2 separate regions of the Homo sapiens genome follow, and region 1 is linked to region 2. The links are contacts of gene promoters, found by promoter capture Hi-C in human tissues and cell types (Jung and others, 2019). All regions are on one chromosome and are shown on one strand. Each heading gives the region's core, a stretch centred on a gene start or on the middle of the fragment in contact. The rest is flanking DNA. Distances are from core to core; before and after follow the strand shown.

Region 1 (5,017 bases), core at 840-3,339, 280 kb before region 2:
GGGTCAGGGAGAGTCGCTGGGACTTGAAGGGAAGGCTTTTGGGGAGAGGAGCCAGTGTTACAAACTATCGAAAAGCTTGGAGGTGGGAAATTTGCGAAAGGTGATTCCAGGGTCAGCTTTTTTGTCACCTGCTTCCGACTTCGGCAGTTTGGAGAGGGCGAGTAATACCCTTCAGGGTCTTGGGATGTGGCCCAGCAAAATCCTTAGAGGGTCTTTGGAGTCGTAGTTTTAAGTTTAGAATTAATGGGCAGAGTATTTAAATAGCCATTTCTCCAAAGATGTATACAAATGGCCCACAAACTCATAAAAATGTTGCATTCCACCCTATAACATGTTTTTGCATAAAAAATTTTTAAAATAACTGTTGTCTGGTAAATTGACACCTCTGGAATAGAAGGTACGCTAGGTTTTTTACCCTACTGCTTCAAACCCCATTCTACACACACACTCCTAGGGTGTGAATCATCCAGTTTAAGAAGCACCCTTGGAGAAACAGAAAGTTGATAGTGTGTCCAGAATTGATGAGTTCTTGGTCTCACTAACGCAAGACAGAAGCTACAGACCCTCACGGTGTTAGTTTTATAAAGGCGGTGTGTCTGGAGTTTGTTCCCTCGGATGTTCCAATAGGTTCGGAGTTTTTTCCTTCTGGTGGGTTTGTGGTCTTGCTGGCTCAGGAGTGAAGCTGCAGACCTTCGCCTGAGTGTTACAGCTTTTAAGACGGCGTGTACTGGAGTTGCTCGTTCACCCCGGTGGGTTCGTGCTCTCACTAGCTTCAGGAGTGAAGCTGCAGACATTTACAGTGAGTGTTACAGCTCGTAAAGGCAGTGCAGACCTAAAAAACAAAAAGAACAAAGCTTCTATACTCTGGTAAGACAATCCCAGTGAGTTACTGTTGCTGGCTTAGGGCAGCCTGTGTTTATTCTCTTCTCTGGCCCAACCCACATCCTGCTGATTGGTCCATTTTACAGAGAGCTGATTGGTCCATTTTACAGAGAGCTGATTGGTCTGTTTTACAGAGTGCTGATTGATCCGTTTTGACGGGGTGCTGATTGGTGCGTTTATAATCCCTGAGCTAGACACAAAAGTTCTCCAGGTCACCGCTAGATTAGCTAGATACAGAGTGTCGATTGGTGTATTTACAAACCGTGAGCTAGACACAGAGTGCTGATTGGTGCATTTACAAACTTTGAGCTAGATACAGAGTGCCGATTGGTGCATTCACAATCCCTTAGCTAGACAAAGGTTCTCCAAGTCCCCACCAGATTAACTAGATACTGAGTGCCAATTGGTTCATTCACAAACCCTGAGCTAGACACAGGGTGCTGATTGGTGTGTTTGCAAACCTTGAACTAGATACAGAGTGCCGATTGGTGTATTTACAATCCCTTAGCTAGACATAAAGGTTCTCCAGGTCCCCACTAGACTTAGGAACTCAGCTGGCTTCACCAAGTGGATGCGGCAGGGGGCAGCAGGTGGAGCTGCCTGCCAATCCCGCGCTGTGCACCGGCACTCCTCAGCCCTTTGGGGGTTGATGGGACTGGGCACCGCGGATTAGGGGGCGGCGCTCGTCGGGCAGGCTCCGGCCGCGTAGGAGCCCATGGCTGGGGCGCCGGCGGGCGGCTCAGTCATGGCGGGCTGCTCAGTCATGGTGGGCTGCAGGTCCCGAGCCCTGCCCCGCGGGGAGGCAGCTAAGGCCCGGCGAGAAATGGAGCACGGCAGCTGCTGGCCCAGGTACTAAACCCCTCACTGCCCCGGGCTGGCGGGCCGGCCGCTCCGAGTGCGGGGCCCGCCGAGCCCACGCCCACCGGGAACTCGCGCTGGCCCGCAAGCGCCGAGCGCAGCCCCGGTTCCCGCCTGCGCCTCTCCCTCCACACCTCCCTGCAAGCTGAGGGAGCTGGCTCCGGCCTTGGCCAGCCCAGAAAGGGGCTCCTACAGTGCAGCTGCGGGCTGAGGGGCTCCTCAAGCGCGGCCAGAGTGGGTGCCAAGGCCGAGGAGGCGCCAAGAGCGAGCCAGGGTTGCGAGGGCTGCCAGCAGGCTGTCACCTCTCAATAGGACGTGAAGGTCGGTCGGGGTCTGGTTGTAGAAGGCTTTAAACAACAAGCTAATAAATTTATACTTCACACTGTAGACAAGTTGCAAGTCACTGAAACATTTTTAAACAGAGGAGTGGATTTGCAAATGCAGTGTCTTGGAAATAGTAAGCTGGAAGCAGTGTGAAGGATGGTTTGGAGAGACCAGAAGCAAGCAGCCAAGTTGGGTTGTGCAGTAAACCAAGCAGTGCAGTAGAGGCTTAGACCTCAAGAGTGACAATAGACATGGAGAGGACAAAGGCCGTACCCACCAGGCTGTAAATCTGCATTGTGTCCCTCCATCCTCCCCTCGCTTCTGCCCTGGAGGCTTATATTTAGAGAGCTGTACTCCTAACGTGAGGCCCTGGGCTTTGTCTCAAAGGTAAAGGCAAAAGTTCCTTATGTGGACTACCTCTGCATTTGTTATTAAACAGCCTTAGATGATGCCATTAATTGAATGAACTCAGAGGCCTTCTTGATAAACTCTCAAAACTCAGGGCTTAGGAAGAAAAGTGCTTGTACTAATGTAGAAATATTTTCTATAACCGGACAGTAAGAGCTATAGAAACCCATTATGCATTCTTCTTTGCCTTCACTGCTAGTGATCTCAGGGCTAAATATTGTACATTGTTTTAGTTTTCTTCGGCAAGCATTTTTTAATTTTGTTGTTGTTGTTCTCATTCCTTCTTGCTAATTTTAAGTGCATTTTCTAATAAAGTCTGACTGCCTGGTGGGCAGATCACGAGGTCGGGAGATCGAGACCATCCTGGCTAACACGGTGAAACCCCGTCTCTACTAAAAATACAAAAAAAAAAAAATTAGCCGGGCGTGGTGGTGGGTGCCTGTAGTCTCACCTACTTGGGAGGCTGAGGCAGGAGAATGGCGTGAACCTGGGAGGCGGAGCTTGCAGTGAGCCGAGATCACGGCACTGCACTCCAGCCTGGGCGACAGAGCGAGACTCCGTCTCAAAAAAAAAAAAAAAAAAAAAAGTCTGACTGCCTGGATCCAGATATTCCCCACTCCACCATTCAACTGGCTGAATGACCTTGGCCTATGACTTAAGCCTTCTGAGTCTCTGCTTTTCTCACGAATAAAATAAAGATAATAATAGGACCTATGTTCTAGAATTCTTATGAGATAAGTGAGATAATCCTGGTAACATAAAGGGCTTAACATCTTACATGTCATTGTGGAAGCTTAACAAATGGTAGCTATTACTGATATGAATTGGGTTTGGTTTCAGCGTTCCTCTGCTTTTATTATAAATTTCCTTAGATCCTCTTCTAGAAGGAGAGCATGTAGGAGGTACAAGTTTGTTTTCAACAAGCAATTCTCTCGGGAACTAAGAGTGAGAACTGAGTCACTTCTGCCATAAGGGCAGCAAGCCTTTCATGAGGGATGTACCCCCATGGTCCAAACATTGCCCACCAGACGCCACCTCCAACACTGGAAATCAGATTTCAACATGAGACTTAGGCCAAACAAACCACATCCAAACTGGAACACCTAGGTAGTGGGAAAGGCTCATGAAATGTGCCTGTGCTATAAGAGAAAACATTATTAGAGACTAGATTGTTCTGTCCCCAAAACCCTATATGCCTCACTGTGGAACAGCGCAAGATGCACCCTAATAATATTTACTTCTCTGAACCCCAGTTTCTTGGATTATTATGTCTATCTTGATATGTTACTTTAGCTCATTAAGCCACACCGTAGTGGGGGTGGGACATGTTGTTTCTTCACATAATAGGTTGATGTACTTAGTCAAACTAAATTTTCAGTGGTGTTTGAAAATGGGGGGACTAGAACTGAGGAAGGTGGTAAAAGCTGGATATATGGATTTGATCACCCCTGGGAAACAACAACAACAACAAAAAACATCTAAACTAAAGCTGTGGAGGTAGTAAGATTACTGAAAGGAAAAGTTTCCAAAAAGAAGGAGGTATCCACATATAAAAGAATGAAGTAGGATCCTTGTCTTATACAATATATCCAAATTAACTTAAGATGGATTTTCTAAAGTTAAAATGAAGTTAAAAATTAAAGTTAAAAGCTATAAAACTATAAAACTGGTAGAAGAAAACAGAGGGGAAAAGCTTTATGACATTGCATTTGGCAATGATTCCTTGGCTATGACACCAAAAAGCACAGGCAACAAAAAAATTGATGATGAGTTGAGGGATTTGTAAAATAACATAAAAATAGATGAATTGGACAACAACAAAAGTTACAACTTCTGTGCATTGAAGGACAGGATCAACAGAGTGAAAAGGCAGCCTACAGAATGGGAGCAAGTATTTGTAAATCATCTATCTGATAAGGGGTTAATAACCAGAATATATAAAGAACTTCTGTATCTCAGCAACATGAAAACAATCTGATTAAAAAAATGGGCAAAATACTTAAATAGATATTTCTCCAAAAAAAGATGTGCAAATGGCCCACAGGCACATGAAAAGATGCTCGACATCCCAGTCACTGGGAAAATGCAACTCAAAGCCACGATGAGGTACCACTGCAATCCACTGGGATGGCTACTATTGCACACACACACACACACACACACACACACACACACAGCCAGGCACAGTGGCTTATACTTGCAATTCCAGCACTTTGGGAAGCTGAAGCGAGAGGATAACTTGAGGGCAGGTGTTCAAGACCATCCTGTGTAACATAGTGAGACCAGATCTCTGCAAAAAATTTAAAAAAATATTAGGGGGTAATCGTGGCACACACCTGTAGTCCCAGCTACCCAAGAGGCTGAGGTAGGAGGATTGTGTGAGCCCAGGAGTTCAAGGCTGTAGTGAGCTATAATTGCACCACTGCACTCCAGCCTGGGTGACAGAGCAAGACCCTGTCTCAAAAAAAAAGAAGAAAGAAAAAACCTCAACCCAAAAGGAGCAAAACAAAAAATAAATGATGGCAAGGATATAGAGAAATTAGAA
Region 2 (4,720 bases), core at 1,322-3,821:
TGCTATTAATTAAAACATCTTTAATAGGAATTTGTTAATTTTCAAAACATTAAAAGAAGTCCACATATTTTCACTCATCAGACAAAACAGTCAAAATTGTGGGAGTCAAGTCAGTCACAGAAAGAATGTGGTGATGTCACTACACGTTTCTTTTTCTTTCTTTTTTTCTTTTCTTTTTTTTTTGGATAGGCTTTTGTTCTGTTGCCCAGGCTAGAGTGCAGTGGCATGATCACTGCTCACTGCAACCTCCACCTCCCAGGTTCAAGCAATCTTACTGCCTCAGCCTCCTGAGTAGCTGTGAATACAGGCACGTGTCACCATGCTCGTTTTTAAAATTTTTGGTAGGCATGAGGTCTCTCTGTGTTGTCCAGGCTGGTACCAATCTCATGGGCTCAAGCGATCCTCCTTCCTCGGCATCCCAAAGTGTTGGGATTACAGGCGTCAGCCATTGTGCCTGGCCACTACACATGTTACTAATATGACGAACTGAAATTATGGATCCCTAAGTTTAGTAGAATAAAATTTCAGATTTCATAAAAAGACTAACATAAAAGATATTGATCATTCTTTTAGGCCTCCTAAGTAAGATTTAAGCAAAGCATAAATTTCTGGGATATTCTCAGTTCAAACACACACTCTCACTGATGTCCTGCTAAGCTTCCTGATGACATTCCTTTATGCTTTACATCTTGGAGAACCAATGAGCATACATATATACATTCATCGTCTAATGCGATTCATTTATTTATTCAGCCATTTATAAATTATTTTACTTATCAAGCATCTATTAATTTCCTGCTCTATATTTAGTACGGTGTGAGGTGCTAGAAACACAAAGATTAATAGATTATGTAGAAAGATTCAGCATTTTATGAGGCTCTGAAATGGTAAGGAATATGACAACCTTTAGGAGAAAAGAAAAGGCCAATAGCCAGAGCAAAATCAGTGAAAGGTATGAGGTTAGAAGAGATCAGGAACAATTGTGTAGGACTCTGTATGTAAGACAACAAAAATCTAATCTATCCAACAGCTCTTTCGCTTGATGGCGAAGTGACGCATGAGAACAAAAGTTGCGTTTATCTAACACCACACGTATACAGCACAAGAACAATATGATATTTGACTTCTGGTCATAAGCATGACTATAGGTAGGTAATTTAATCTTCATATAGTTCGTTTTCTCATTTTTAGCATTCTAAGATTGAACTAGATCACATTAAAAGATGTTGCCCCACATCCCTAAACTGGGAAAAGAATAAGGTTTTATTTATAAAAGTTCAAACCATAGACAGAAAGGCAATTAAACCCTGGAATGCGGAATCAAAAATATTGGTTTTGTTGCTTAAACTGAGTAAAATAACCTCTAGAAAAAGAAACTAACTACAGGACATTTTTGAAGCATAGGGGAATGACAGTGCAGTTCTAGTCCATGTTATTTTTCAAATTATGTTTCACTATTTCATAGGAAGTGAAAGTGCCTAAGCTGGAAGAAAAGAAAGCAAGTTAGCCTCTGCTGGGTAAAATAGAGAGGTAAGGTTTAAAATAAGAAACAAGATGCTTTTACAACCAGAAAAGGACACACACTAGATTCCTTTGATAACTATAAACTTTTGAAAATATAAAGAAGAAATACATTCCTTGGAAATACGAACAAAGTAGCAGATTCATTCCACAAGGGCAAATACAAAGGAGGAACTTTAAATTATTTAAAACACCTACATAAACTCTATGCTACAAAAATTCTTACCCTAGAGCAGAGAATGGAAATGTAACAAGACAGAGAAATTTCCTTAATACTTCAAAGAATAGAAAAGACACTGGCTATGAAAATCTATAATTTTTGAGGGGGTTTGGTGATGAAGGCACCATGTTAAGTTTAGGCATATGCTTATCGCCTCTGATTCCAGAAATATTCAATTACCTAGTCATTAATTCTAGACTTTATAAAATTAAATCTAACGTTTCATGTTTTCTTAAGTTTACATTTTTATCCTATTGATATTGTAAAAGAATAAATAACAATATGAGTAAATTGCCACAGGTATTTTTCCCAGTGGAGATGAATTTATCACATTATGTTAAAAGGTCAGATTTGATTGAGAGTGAGCAAAGCTGTGGAGCAGAAAGGCGTGATCCCGCTAGAAGTTGCTGTGTGAATATAAACATTCATCACGAGAAATCAAGAAATAGAAAGGCTATGAAAACAGAAGCAAAGTTCTACATATTAAAACCAAAGTGGCAATTTATTTTATGAACAGACATTTTGCTTCATTAAAAACATTCGCTCTTATTCTTAGCATTCAATGAATTTTGCTTTGAATCCAATCTCCTCTTTTCAGTTTGGCAATTAGATACATAAGAAAGAAATAAAGGAGATAACTAGTAAAATCTTAATTCTCAAAGGCACCCTAAATCCAGCTTACCAGATCTCTGAAGTGGAAACGCGAGTTCTAACGGGGAAGTCCGAACAGTTTTGATGTCAGCGTAGACTACATCTCCAGCCATTGCACAGATCAAAAAGAGAGAGAAGACCACAAATGATGTCCCACTGAAGGGACAATCATATTTCTGCAAAGAAACTTCTGATAAGTAAATTGAGATGGCAAATTTCCTTCTGCTCCCCAAGTGGGTGGTGGACTTCCTCCATGAATAAATGACAAAACCAATGTGTTCAGTCTTACTAATCAAGGTAGCAGATTTCTCGAATACTTGTATGACATGGAAGAAATTACTAACCATACAGTAGGTTCTCGTTTTTCAGTTAGTTTTCTGCCTAAACTTGAAATGCTTTTAACTTTTATTAATACCACAGAAGATATCTCACCATTTTCTCCTATAGACCACTTCCTCTTTTAGTTCAGGCATATATTCTCTGGCGGAAACTCTGAATTTCCAGCATCTTCTCCAAAGTAGGATAGCTATTTGGGAAACAGAACAAGAAAAAGAAGGGATTTTATTACGAAAGTTACAGAAAGGGGCCCTATGTCTTTTATCCTCCTCTCTAAATGCATTGTATTGTCTAGATAATACCTTAAAAATTCTGAAAGCTATTTGCTTTCCTGTATGCTTTATAATATTAACATTAAACTGAGGTAAAACATGAATTATGCAGAGGACTTCTGAACTAAAAAATATATATTTAAGAAACAGAAATAACTCTGTTAAAATAATTCAAGGTAATGACATAAAAGAAAAAAATCTAATTTTAAAATGAGGTGTTCAGAAATTTACTATCGAATACAACATAGCAAACATAGATTTTATCTCCTATTTCTTCTAAAATTCCACTAAAATTGAATTAAGTGAATAAAAATTTGTTAGTCTAAAACAATAACACAAAGGCTCAGGGTCCTATTAGTTGATGAAAAATTTCAACTAATTCCTGGAAAATGGAGAGTAGATGGAGATGTGATCATTGATGAAGAAGTAAAATCAGAGAAAAATGCAGCCAACACCATACAGAGGGAAATAATGGAGGAGAGCCTAGCTACCTGTGAAACCGTCATAGGACATAGAAATGTCAGATATGAAAAATGGCAGGATCCATTAGCTTATGACTAGTAGATTAACTGGAAATCTGCATATGGAAAAACTGGTTTTTTCAATACCCACTCAAGTGCATTCTGCAGAATTAATCTAAACTGCAGTCACCCCATCCCTACCCCTCATCCAAGAAATTTAACTTAGGTTAATTAAATAACTAGAGAACAGATCCTGGCTTTGTGGCATTTAGGGATCCCTCCTATAAAGACCAACTTCTGACCCTGGATGAGGCTTGAGCACCGACCTCTGTCTCTTAAGACTGCATGACACTCTCTCCCTTTTCTGGGCTGTTCCAACTGTTTGTATGTGACTAGACAATACCTACTACATACATGAAAAACTGACTTTTAGAGGTTTTATTATCTGCAGGTGGTTGCATAACCAATAATTTTTTTTTTTTTGAGACGGAGTCTCACTCTGTCACCCAGGCTGGAGTGCAGTGGCGCGATCTCGGCTCACTGCAAGCTCTGCCTCCCGGGTTCATGCCATTCTCCTGCCTCAGCCTCCCGAGTAGCTGGGACTACAGGCGCCCGCCACCACGCCCGGCTAATATTTTGTATTTTTAGTAGAGACGAGTTTCACGGTGGTCTCGATCTCCTGACCTCGTGATCTGCCCGCCTCAGCCTCCCAAAGGCATAACCAGTACATTTTAAGAGTGATAACTGAGTTCTAAGTCCATGCCATAATTCAACTATGCTGTCTAGATTTTGAGGGTAAGACTCACATTTTATTATTTTTATTTTCATCACTTAGTTTTGTGTGAAACATAACAGCCGCTCAGTAATTATGTGTTGAATTACCAAATCAGTTATGCTATGCTGAATGTTATAATTAGGCTATAACAGTTTTCCAGAATGAGAATAATCATTTTTCACTAAAAAGTAGACTTTTATTCATATGAAAAATATGACTGATGGGCCGGGTGCCCTGGCTCATGCCTGTAATCCCAGCACTTTGGGAGGCCGAGACGGGCGGATCATGAAGTCAGGAGCTCGAGACCAGCCTGGCCAACATAGTGAAATCCCATATCTGCTAAAAATATAAAAAATTAGTCGGGCGTGGTGGCGTACGCCTGTAATCCCAGCTACCTGGGAGGCTGAGGCAGAAGAATGGGTTGAACTTAGGAGGCAGAGGTTGCAGTGAGCTGAGGTCGCGCCATTGCACTCCAGCCCTGGAG

Evidence for each region. The method cuts DNA at HindIII sites, captures the fragments that hold promoters and counts their contacts. A contact is called where the count stands out against the background at its distance.
Region 1: a contact is called between a fragment that was not itself captured here and the fragment with the promoter of CLECL1 in region 2, in 1 of the 25 tissues and cell types used here (hippocampus).

Annotation. Positions count from the first base shown.
Region 1 is chr12:9,448,902-9,453,918 of GRCh38, forward strand. It overlaps the pseudogene OVOS1P. Among named protein-coding and RNA genes, the nearest start is that of LINC02367, 84 kb to the left of the region's middle. The HindIII fragment of the contact is 3,251 bases long and covers 465-3,715 here.
Region 2 is chr12:9,730,526-9,735,245 of GRCh38, forward strand. It overlaps CLECL1 (C-type lectin like 1), which reads right to left and starts at 2,572. Exons shown (of 2, transcript NM_001441815.1): 1 at 2,424-2,572. The coding sequence starts at 2,505. RefSeq lists a silencer at 305-364. The HindIII fragment of the contact is 7,841 bases long and covers 62-4,720 here.